3 separate regions of the Homo sapiens genome follow, and all the other regions are linked to region 1. The links are contacts of gene promoters, found by promoter capture Hi-C in human tissues and cell types (Jung and others, 2019). All regions are on one chromosome and are shown on one strand. Each heading gives the region's core, a stretch centred on a gene start or on the middle of the fragment in contact. The rest is flanking DNA. Distances are from core to core; before and after follow the strand shown. Region 1 holds the start of SMIM21 (small integral membrane protein 21). Region 2 has its middle 47 kb from the start of SMIM21. Region 3 overlaps LOC107985177 (a long non-coding RNA gene).

Region 1 (3,819 bases), core at 567-3,066:
GTTCACATCTTGTCACTTCACTTTGACCTCCTGGTTATCCTGCCTATTTTGTAGGAAAGGAAACTGAGGCCTACAAAGGTTGGGTCAATTGTCCTAGGTCATGTGGAGGGCAATCGGTTCAGCCAGGATTTAAACCGCCTTTGCTCTGTTTCTGGTCCTCATAGGTTCTCTACCAGAACTACAGAAGGACAGGAAGAGCTAGAAAAACCATTCCAGAGCTCAACTATAACTGGGCATAAACTCTGAGCTCATTAGAAAACTAGAAAACTATATCCTTTTGCTCTTGTTCACAACTTTTAAGTTGAACTTATCCATAAAGAGGAATTACCATGTTTACAGATTGTAGTGGCCTGATTTGCATATGCTTATCATGAAAATAAACATGATTATGGTTGTTTTTTCCCCTAAGTCTAGTTGGCAGAGAGCAACTTCGTCCCTCCTTGGCACCTGTCTCAACTGTCATAGACCAAGCTGTCCCTCCTAGATGAGGTCTCTTTCCACCCCCTACACCCCACTGTCTTTTAGCAGCTGGAAGTTTAAGGCCTGTGGGAAATTGAAGATTAATTTTTAGTCAGTGTTTTTTTTTTCTCTTTTCTTTAAATCACCAACTCTGAGAATTCTAGATGTTACTCTGCATATGTGTGCTCCACAACTATCAACTTTCACAATTTGGGATCTGCTACAAAACGGGCTTCCGAGCTCCCTTCCTGTCCCTCCACACAGGTCTCAAGCCTCCTCTGTCTCTGCTCCCTCTGCACGTTTCTGCCTTTCCCTTGTCCATGGCCTTGGTGGGACCCACCATTTTTTGCTCTTCTTTCTAGAGAATGAGTCTTGTCTCCAACTAGATGGGAAAAACCACTCAGGACAAGACCATCAGAACAGCACTGGGCTACTGATTTGTATGCTGTGCATATGGTCACTGTTCACATAATAACAGGTATTTTCTTAGTCATACTGTGCGTCAAGCACAGTGCATACTGTCCTGGGCATTTTTACTCAACACCAACACTGTGGAGCACCCATCATGAGCTTCTGTAGGCTGGGACTCACAACTATGTGCATCTCTCTTCATCAGGCACCTTGTCAAAAGCCATCCACACTATGGGGATAACGCTGCAAGTATTTGGTGAACGTGTGTGTGTTAAGTACCACTTAATTTTCCGCTCATTGGGCACCATTTACAAACAGTGGAAGATCTGTGAAAATTCCCATGAGGCAGCACAGCAGCATCCAGAGGCCACCACACACGTCTCATGGCTACTCTCCACCCTGCGATGATGGTCTGCACAGCGCTTCTTCCTGGGGTAGCTCCCAAGTAACCTCCATTCAGCTTTCCTCCTGCTGTTCCATGGTGCTTGTCTTCCAGCAGAATCTCTCTCACTTTAACAATTAAATGGACAACCCAGGAAACCTACACTTGGAATTCAGCGAAAGAAATGTTAGTCTCCTGTGGAGTGTCTCATTAGGTTAAAAGAAAGTTACTGAAAAGTCTGATGGGAAAATGAATTTCTACATTTTGCTTAGGGCCCAAAAAGAATCCCAGATTTTATTTCCATTGAAGTGCATATAGTAGTATTTATTTTGATTCAGGGAGATGCGGTTCATTTTTAATATTCACAAAAGCTTCTTGACATCAGATCCAAAGCTTGTGCTGTGGAGATATGGTTGAACATTCTCACACAGCATCACTGAGCCAGAGAGCAACCTGAGAAACCTCAGAACTCCATGTGCGGGAAGATTCCATCCGACTTCATAAAATAATACCTGGACCTGAGAACTCTACATGTGGGAAGATTCCATCCAGCTTCATAAAATAATACCCAGATCTTCAAGGTTGGCAAAGAAGAGAAAAGCTCCTTGGGAACTTAGTTACCAGGTCTTATAGCACCAGCTCTGTGTCCTCAGAGTCGCTGTCATCAAGGAGACCTCTCACTGGTCACCGCCGCAGCCCCCACATGGACCAGTATGTGTCCACAGCTCCTCCCCGATTCCCTATAGCACAGCTGGGAACATTTAAACAAGACTCTGCAGGAATGGGACGGATATTCAAGGGGAATTTGCTGCAGAAGAAAGCACTTACCACAGTGAGTTTATGGGTCTTTAACTTTGGGTTATGAGAGAGACGTATCACTGCACAGGTATGGTCCTACAAAGCACTCTTTTGCCCCAATCTCCTGTGAGTGCTCTGTCTCTCAAATCCAGATTCTACGAAGTTTAAGATGAGACGTCAATCCAGAGCTCTTTCTTTCTCAGTTCTGGCCAAGACAACCTCCCAATTCCAATTCCCAATCTGAGGAAGAGCTGCCCCTTTCAGAAAAGGTACTGGGCCCTCCCCTTGACATTACATCAGTATACAGGCCAATGAGTCAATGATCTCTCCCCTACAGAGAGAGCCTCTTAACACAGATGCAAGGATACCTCCAAATGCTTTAAGCCTAGGTGCACCTGCAACACCTACAAACTCAACCTACCCAGACAAATTTGATACTGCACTCCTAGAAGAAAGTTTCTTTTCCTTCATTACAGGACAGAAGCAAAAGTTGCAACAAATTTAACCATTCATGAACCAGTAGCCAATGTGCAGGCAACAGATGGCATTTATAGACACCCCATTTGCAGAGGTGATGGGGTGATCAATAGCTTCTGAAAAGGAAGTTTATGACCCAGTCATATATCGGAAAGGTTAAAGTCCTAAGACAAAATTTCTGGAATGTCTTCTCCTGTAGCACAGGGTTCCTCTTAGTGTTTCTGACTGTGAAGAGGAGATGGATGGGAGCAGGCAGGTAGCATCTCCTTCCTCTGTCTTGATCCCCACTGCTGCTTCTTTATTTCCTTTTCCTTTTTCCATTTTTTTTTTTTTTTTTTTTTTTTTTTTTTTTTTTTTTTTACATTTTAAAAGTAATGGTCTAGGGCCGGGTGCAGTGGCTCATGCCTGTAATCTCAGCACTTTGGGAGGCCGAGGCGAGGAGATCACAAGGTCAGGAGATTGATACTATCCTGGCTAACACAGTGAAACCCCATCTCTACTAGAAATACAAAAAATTAGCCAGTCGTGGTGGCGGGCACTTGTAGTCCCAGCTACTTGGGAGGCTGAGGCAGGAGAATGGTGTGAACCCGGGAGGCAGAGCTTGCAGTGAGCCGAGATTGTGCCACTGCACTCCAGGCTGGGTGACAGAGCGAGACTCTGTCCCTCAAAAAACAAACAAACAAACAAACAAACAAACAAATAAATAAATAAAAGTAATGGTCTTAAAGTTCTTCAGTCTTAAACAAATTATAGAAGGCTTTAAAAGCTGGTTTTGTGCATTTCATATGTGATAGTTGTAAGTCGATTTGAAGTCCTTCTAATACTTTATAAATTTCATCAATCAACATCCAGGTAGGTAGAATCTTAGGTACATGATGATGGTTATGAATTAATACTAGGCCGGTGTGTGCTGGGTTTGTCTCCAGGCCTTGCGTGAGGGCTGTGATGGGGTGCATGACTCAGGAGGCACTCGGTGGGCAATCAAAAGAGGCAATGGTAACACAGCACCTCAAACATTTCAGGGCAGCTGGTCTGCACCAGGTACACAGTAGGCATGAGGAGTGCAAAGATGGGAGAGGCAGGGGCCCCCACCTCAGGGAGCACACAGATACAGAGACTGTCCCTGTCCCCTCCATCTTCAACTCTTGATTTCTTCCATCTTTCTTAGGTTGGAGGTTAACTTGCTGCTGAAGAGATTTCAGCAGGATGGGAACTTACATATAATCTGAATAATCAAATGTAAAAGAGTTCATCTTCTGGGTCCCACTTCTGCTATTTTCATCCACTGCTTC
Region 2 (3,819 bases), core at 399-2,898, 47 kb after region 1:
CCTACTAAATCACGTATCTGGATTATTAACTAGCAACCAGGTGATCCCAAATCATTAAGCTGTGTTGTAGTGAATGCTCACTCTGCTGAGGAGCTCTTCTTCTCCAATGTCTTCTTTGAGAATATCTGTGAGTTCCTACATGCATGAGAAAGCTAAATTGAGGTTGAGGAACAGATACTGGTTCAGTAACACACACCCCAAAACTCCATTTTTCTATGGAATATGCAGCAGCAACTGTTCCACTGACTCGGAAAGTTGCCTCCATTCCCCGTCCCTTTCACTTGTCACTTTCGTGGGTATTTCTAGAATGATTGTCCATATCACTGTTGCAATGCTTATATGCCTTATGCGTTATCCTTTTAATAAGTCCAGACTGAGAGAGCACTTTAAGACCATCAAATAAAAGCTGATCTAGAGTGACTGTCGCATTGCCTAGCCCGTAATATCAGTACAAGTTAATTTTCACAGATCCTAAAGAAACGTGACTGTCAACTGGGAATCCAAGCGAACAAGAATTCCATCTCACAGCAAAGTCTGGAGTTAACATGTAACTCTACCTAGATGCGGTCATTGTTAAAGGACATGTGGGAGGCTACCCTTTCAAGATTATTTTTGACAGGAATGGGTTAATCTTGTAATCTTTTCTCTTCTTGTTCCAGTCGCTGGGCTGTCTATAGGGTAGGTAAATGTGGTGCTATTTTCCGGTTTTGTTTCACTGTTTGTCAAGAGAGTGGGCCAATTTCATACCATTTGCCGCTTTCGTTACTGTCTCAAGGTTGTCACAAGAATTGATAAATTTCAGACTGTTTTTCTTGTCCTCATTACAATCTTAAGGTTGTCATGAGAATAAATTGATTTTGTGCCGTTTTTTGGTCCTCATTACCGTCTTTGTCATGAGAATGGCTTCATTTGGAGCCATTTCTGTTCCTGTAGCCATTTTTGTCATGAATGGCTACATTGAGAAGAGATTCATCAATGGAAAGAAACAGACCCCATCTTGGGGCTGATCTTTGGGGCAGCGAGCTCTCGAGCAGAGGCCCAGCGAGAGCTGAGGCAGGGATAAACCATAGCCCTTCTTGTGCAGAGTTCACCATTGTGACTTTTGTGACCCTGGTGTAATCACAGAAAACAGACAACAAACAAAGCTCCCATCTTCAGTTACTGCTCCTGGCCTGATTTCCTCCTGAAGGACAGATAATCCTCTAGGTTGGCTCTTGAGGACATTGACAGGGAGTGACCTGGTGATCCAGAAGGAAACCTGGAGAGAGGAAAGCCATGTCGGTTGGACGTGGAAGGCAGCAGTTCACACGGAGGAGTTTTGGCAGGACTCATGTCTCAAAGCTACACGTTAACATCGTTGGTTCCAGCAACTTCCTGATTATGGGAAGTGAGAAGGCACAAACATGTTCCCAAAATTCAACTCTCCAAGATGCTCTAACTACTCCAAAATATGTTTTATTTCTTTTAGTGCAAAAATATTCAGATCCTAATGAACTCAAACTAGATGCAAGCAAACAGAGCAGCCTTCCTTGGAACCCAGATGGGGACTTGGTGTCAGAGGCAGAGCAGAGGCCAGTCTTCAATAACATCACATGCTCAGAATTAGCGGGAAGATCCTTGGCTAAAGATTTCAGCAGCTTGCTATATTAGAGAGACATTTGCAGTCAGCATTTAAGAGAAAGGTCCAGATGGTCAGTGAGCAAAGATGTACAAATCAGGGAGCAGAAGTGATTTTAGGGTTGTGCTGTCCAGGGATGGGTTGCGTTAATTATTTTTGTTCATCTCTTTGACCAATTTTAAATCAAGCAATCAGTTTTATCTCCTGGCTTTTTTATACAAAATACATTATTTGGTTGACTTAATTAATTACAGACCACAAGCTGGAGAGGCATTAGGAGGATGATCTGAAGGAAATGAGGACCGGAAAGAGGAGGTTTTAAATACATATGTGCTTGAGGACCTCCGGGCTTCCTGGAAATAGACAAGCTGTATGGCCTGTAACAGAGAAAGAAGGATTTATAATAATGGACTTATTCAAGTAGTCCGGCACCTGGGTAAAATTAGGGCTGAAAGTGGAAACAACCTAAAAGGCCATCAACTGGTAACGGATAAATAAAATGTGCTATATCCATACAATGGAATACTATTCAGCCATGGAAAAGAATGAAGTACTGATACAAGCTACAACGCAGATATACCTCAAAAAACATTGTTAGGTGAAACAAGCCAGACACATAAAACCACAAATTATTTGATTCTGTTTACTTGAAACGTCCAGAATAGGCAAACCAATTAAGACAGGAATTACAGCAGTGGTTGGCTAGGGCTGGGTAGCCAAAGGGGGGAATGACTACTAATGAGCATGGAGTTTCTTTGTGGGGTTTGATGGAAATGTTCTAAAGTTAGATTATGGTGATGGTCGCACAATTATGTAAATTTCCTATAATTCATTGGGCTGTACAGTGAAAACAGGTAACTATTTGATGGAATGTAAATTGTACATCAATAAAGTTGGTTTTAGTTTTTAAGTAGCTTAGAGGTTTTTGAATATTTGCCCTAGTAGACCATAGACATGGCTAAAGTAAAGTGGATTTTAGGGAGGGTGGCAGAAAGATTCACAGAAATTGATGGGTCAGTTTCATTTTTTAAGTGAAGAAGAAAAATAACAATCTTGTAAACATTTGCCTTGTGAGGACACCAAAATAGGGAAGTTGGGTACTCAATGAAATTGAGGAGGACTTTAATGATCAATTAATGGGCTGTAAGCGAACAGGAAGCGATATGAGAAAGAAACATGATTAGCAGGAGAGCTGTTACAGGAAGGAAACACCAAAACTGCTACAGTTGAATCCAATGGCATTTTCTAGTAATTGAAAGAGGAACATTTTATTTTACCTCCCAGTAAAGCAAACCCATTCTATTTAAGTTGACCTTGACACTCTTGGATTGGGCACCCAAGAATTGGGTAGGGATGCTTGGAGATGCTGTGATTTTGAGGTGCTGAAGGTCATCTAAATGAAGAGAAAGGCACATCATTGCTTTCCAAGAGTGCCAGGGGTGAGTGTGAGAAGAGGATGCATGAATCACAAGGGTAGATGCAAGCAAACCCCCTTCCAGAAATCCCAAACAAGAAGAGGGAGCCCAAGTTAAGCTTTGCCGACTTGGGAAATAATGAAAGAAAAAGGTAATTAGGGAAAAGAAATAGAGGAAAAGAGAAGGGATGGTAAGAGATTTCTGGGAATGTGGCTAATGATTTGGGCATTGCTGCTATCAAATTATGGTGATGGGACCGGGGACCTGTATTTCCATGTTGTTTGACAGTGTTGCAGGGTTAATGTCCTTGGGCCCAGCCTAATAAACTGTGGTCCTTACAGGTTAAACTTAATAGAACGCCTGGATTGTTCTTAGGGAGCAAGGAGCTGTCAAGCGGGAGTGTACACTTCTAAGTGGGCAGGAGTGCACCTAGTAATGGTCAGTGAAGGGCTGGCCAATAAAGGAAACGTGTGAGATAAGAAACCTGGCCCGAAGGCGTGCCCCTTCCCCAATTCATGTTCAGTCTGGCCTGAGGAGGTGGATCATCACAGCCTTTTCCTCTTCCGCCTGCCCCAGAGTGGAAGGCCCCTTGCTGAGGCCCTCAGCAGGGGCAGCTGGTCCCAGCTTGAAGTCAGAGGCCCAGAGCGCTGCACCCTGACGACACCGTGGATCCAGCTCCCTGAGCTCAGTGACCTTGCGGTGCCTTATTGCTTTTCACTAATTTCTCTGGGCAATTGTACACTTTTAGGCATCTCGTTTAACAAATTGTTAAGCTCTTTATGCTAT
Region 3 (3,819 bases), core at 709-3,208, 35 kb before region 1:
GAATCCTACGTCCTTTGTGCGGGCTGTGCAGAGTCCTGCGAGGCCCCTGGTAGACAAAAGATGGGCCGTGAGAAGCGGGTCCCACGTGAGGATGACGAGAGGGTGGGAAGTGCCAACACAGATCCCACTTGGAACTTCATCTTCTCCAAAGAATGTCAAATTTTGAGTGGAAAGGGGAAAAAAAGGGGGGAGCCCCAAACGTAACACAACACTCCGAAGTCAGTTCTTTTTCTCTCTTGACTAATTAAGCTTAACCAGAATGGTGGGGCTGTCAGGCGTGGGGAACCTTTCCTGAGAGAAGAAAGGAGCCGCTCTCCAGGTGGGTTCCCGACTCTGGCTGGCTCCCACCACAACATACATTTGGCATCCATGACAGCACCATCAAAAATAATAGCGAGAAAGCTCACTGTCTGTCACGACGGAATAATTATGTATGGGCTTTCCTTACACTCAAGATGGATTAGATATTTCATTGAGGAAAATATATGTGGCTTTTAAAAAGAATGTAATGTATTGAGGGCACTGCTGAGATTAATAGCCAAATAAAGAATTTTTTAAAAAAAGTTCTGTGTGTGTATGTGTGTGTGTGTGAACATGTCACTCATGAAGCGATGGGAGATGTCATTCCTAAGCTGGTTAATTACAAAATGCATTAATGTTTTATTATACCCTTATCAGTAATTAATCACCCACTTTGATGTAAAGTTCAGCCTCAGAAAAGTATCATGAAATTGTCCTTCATGTATGAATGAGGATTTTTAGGGGTGAACAAAGACCATGACAAAGATAGAAGTGCATTCCCCCGGAAAGAGGACAGGGATTAGCCTTGTGTGAATCTTACACTGTGTGTGTTTTACCCTTGGGGTGTTTATGAGGCCAGAACCAAAGGAAGCAAGAGAGAGAGAGACAGAGCAAAGGAAGAGAGAGAGAGAGAGAGAGAGAGAGAGAGAGAGAGAGACAGAGAGGGGGTTGTCTCTACAACAGGGGGATGGGGAGCTTTCCTTAGTGGTGTTCTTCAGGTGCAGAGTTTGAATAAAAATGCAAAACAGGATGCTCCCATTCAGTAAATATTATCGTTTTTATTCACTCATTAATTAAGTTGCTTAATTGCTGCTGTCAAAAGACTCTTGAGTTTGTGACTGGGGCTGCTGCACTGTTTTGATAGGAGCTGAAGGAGAGAAAGGCAATATTGCTTGCTCGCTTGGCTTTCTGAAGAAGGAAGCCTCAGTGAGGCAGATCAGAAAGGATCCAAGAGGGTGATGTGGAGAGGGAACACTGCTTCTGGGGGGAAACGGCCAGTTGCAGGACTCCTATAGGAGGCTATTTCATTACTGTGATGGATGCCCATCGCCGGCATATTATCATTTCAGTCATTACTCTGTTAAAATCACTTTTATGCAAAATATTTCCCCCTTTAATCTAACTTCCCAAGAGGGGCAGGAATGGAAATAGACTCTGGCCTTGTCAGTCAACACAATCCTACATCCCTTTGTATCTGCTTCAGAGGAATGACTCCGGGCTGTTTCGGAACACATCCTGTCCACTGCACTCCATCTGCAAATTCCCAGTGCTTCCAGGGCCTCCCATGCATAATGCTCCACGTTTCTTCACACTGGGGTGATCACATGTCCCACAGAGCCTAAGCCAGACTGCCGCTCAGCAAACACATACCAGAAATAGCCTACAAAGTGTCTTGGTGCTGACATTTGATTAATGTTCCCTGGCCTTTCCGTGCTCAAATATGCTTTATTTGAAATATTTGAATAACCTTTGAGCACACCCTTCCTAATTTGTCACCCTGTGCACACCCAAAAATAATAGACAGGCTAATCCCGTAGTAACAGCGCCCTCTTGCCCAGGAAGAGATTGCTCCCGCCATGTCTAAGCACACTGGGCTTCCCCAGAGGGGTGGCTCCACCCCATCTACCACCGAAGCATGGAAAAACAATGAAGAACAACAACACTGGCCCACTGGCATCACCCTCAATGGGAAAAGTGACGGTGGATCTGCACAGTAAACATGGGTGTGTGTATCTGACCTTCCCCAGAGTCTCAGGTAGAGGGGAGCTCCAATCAAGTTAACTCTGCTTCCCTGCCTGAGGGCAACTAAATGTTTTTCTTTTGCCTTTCACAGTGTAGCTACTCCTCCAACCAGTGGAGCCAAGGGCATCTATGTGTGCATGCATAGGCCACTTTGCATTGCCTGTGTATCGTGTACATGTGTAGGTTGTTGCATATGTGTGCATGTGTGGATGGTTGCATATGTGTCCATGTGTCCATGTTCCCTACTTTCTCAATGACCTCAATTGCATGCTTATTGGGTGCCTGGCTGATAGTTTATCTAAGAGGAGCTGCCACGTGGTGAGCCTCACCTGCAGGCTGGAAAACCAAGCCACACAGATAACATGATGAAGGGCTAGGAGGTCAGGCCAGTTAGCTAATGAGTTACTTGAATCTTTATTTTTTTGTTAAAATACAGCTAGACATGTTGGAATCCTGATGTCAAATCGCTATGAATTTTGTGCCAAAAAAAAAAAATCTTCATTTTCCGGGCTGCCATGGGCTTTGCTTGCATATGCTGGGCAATTACTCTCTCCTTTGCCATGAGGAGGGTAGGAAGAAAGGAGGGAGGGAGGGAGGGAGGGAGGGAGGGAAGGTTGAGAAGCATCTCAGTTCACAGCATTATTCTCATCCTCTTCAATTTTCTGAGAAATTCATTTGCATTTAGGACAAGGTGACTTGGACTTGCTTCTGTTTTCCACTACCTTCATGAAGGAAGGTGGGGAATAGTTGTTATAATTTTCTAACACTTAACTTACAAATCTAATGGTTTTATTTGACTGTCAAACCCAACTCTGTGAGACATATTTAAATGCCTTGGTATCTTGCATCTAGGGGTAATTAGGTAAGATTGATTAGGTAAGATACTAACCATGGGGACTATCAAATCCCTATAATGGGCTGAATGTGTCCCCCCAAAATTCATATGTTGAAATCCTAACCCTAATGTGATCTTATTAGGAGGCGGGACCTTTGCGAGGTGATTAGGTCATGAGGGTGAAGCCCTCATAATTGGAATTCCTGTCCTTATAAAAAGACACCAGAGAGCCCCTTCACCCCTTTTGCCATGTGAAGACACAGTGAGGAAGCAGGGCCTCACCAGGCACTGTACCCAGCCTCCAGAATTGTAAGAAATAAATTTCTGTAGGTTATAAGCCACACAACCTATGGCCTTTTGTTATAGCAGCCCAAATGGACTAAGACAGGGGTCATTATATCCTACGACTGGTAGACAGAGATGCTGAAGTTTGTATAGACCAGGAAACCCAGGAGCTCAAATCATAAGGAACCTGGAGCAGAGGGAGGGGAGGGTGGAAAAGGGAGACTAGCGGAGCAAGAGCTCTAACACGATCATGCTGCAAATTCAGGATGAGTTAGAGGGAGGCAACACCATGTCTACATCACTACACTTCCAATAACATTAAATGATTTAGATGATCTCAAGCTTCTGAAAATAGCAGCATGAACACAAGTGTTGATCTAAAACAGGAAGATTACAACCATACCACAGATATATGAAATATTTTCCAGGAAAAGAAAAAAAGCCACCAGGGGAAATATGGTTTTACCTGTTATTATTCTTGTCGTGTTGCAAGCATTCAGGTAGATAGTCTTTGTTTGAGTAGGAAATGACACAACTTTATGCAATATGGACAACATTCTGGAACAAAATTCTAAAAAATGTAAAATTCTAGTTTTTGACATCAAAAGTCAAATGTTCTAAAAAATGAAGAAAGAATTATTTCACTTAGTGCTTAT

Evidence for each region. The method cuts DNA at HindIII sites, captures the fragments that hold promoters and counts their contacts. A contact is called where the count stands out against the background at its distance.
Region 2: a contact is called between a fragment that was not itself captured here and the fragment with the promoter of SMIM21 in region 1, in 1 of the 25 tissues and cell types used here (adrenal gland).
Region 3: a contact is called between a fragment that was not itself captured here and the fragment with the promoter of SMIM21 in region 1, in 2 of the 25 tissues and cell types used here (lymphoblastoid cells and spleen).

Annotation. Positions count from the first base shown.
Region 1 is chr18:75,425,700-75,429,518 of GRCh38, reverse strand. SMIM21 (small integral membrane protein 21) reads left to right here and starts at 1,816. Exons shown (of 3, transcript NM_001037331.3): 1 at 1,816-2,084. The coding sequence starts at 1,956. LOC105372200 (a long non-coding RNA gene) reads right to left here. Exons shown (of 4, transcript XR_935636.3): 4 at 2,858-3,819. The HindIII fragment of the contact is 8,486 bases long and covers 1-3,819 here.
Region 2 is chr18:75,378,943-75,382,761 of GRCh38, reverse strand. No RefSeq gene overlaps it. Among named protein-coding and RNA genes, the nearest start is that of SMIM21, 47 kb to the left of the region's middle. RefSeq lists an enhancer at 3,803-3,819. The HindIII fragment of the contact is 5,378 bases long and covers 1-3,819 here.
Region 3 is chr18:75,460,437-75,464,255 of GRCh38, reverse strand. All of the region lies in intron 2 of LOC107985177 (a long non-coding RNA gene), which reads right to left. Among named protein-coding and RNA genes, the nearest start is that of SMIM21, 35 kb to the right of the region's middle. The HindIII fragment of the contact is 3,774 bases long and covers 72-3,819 here.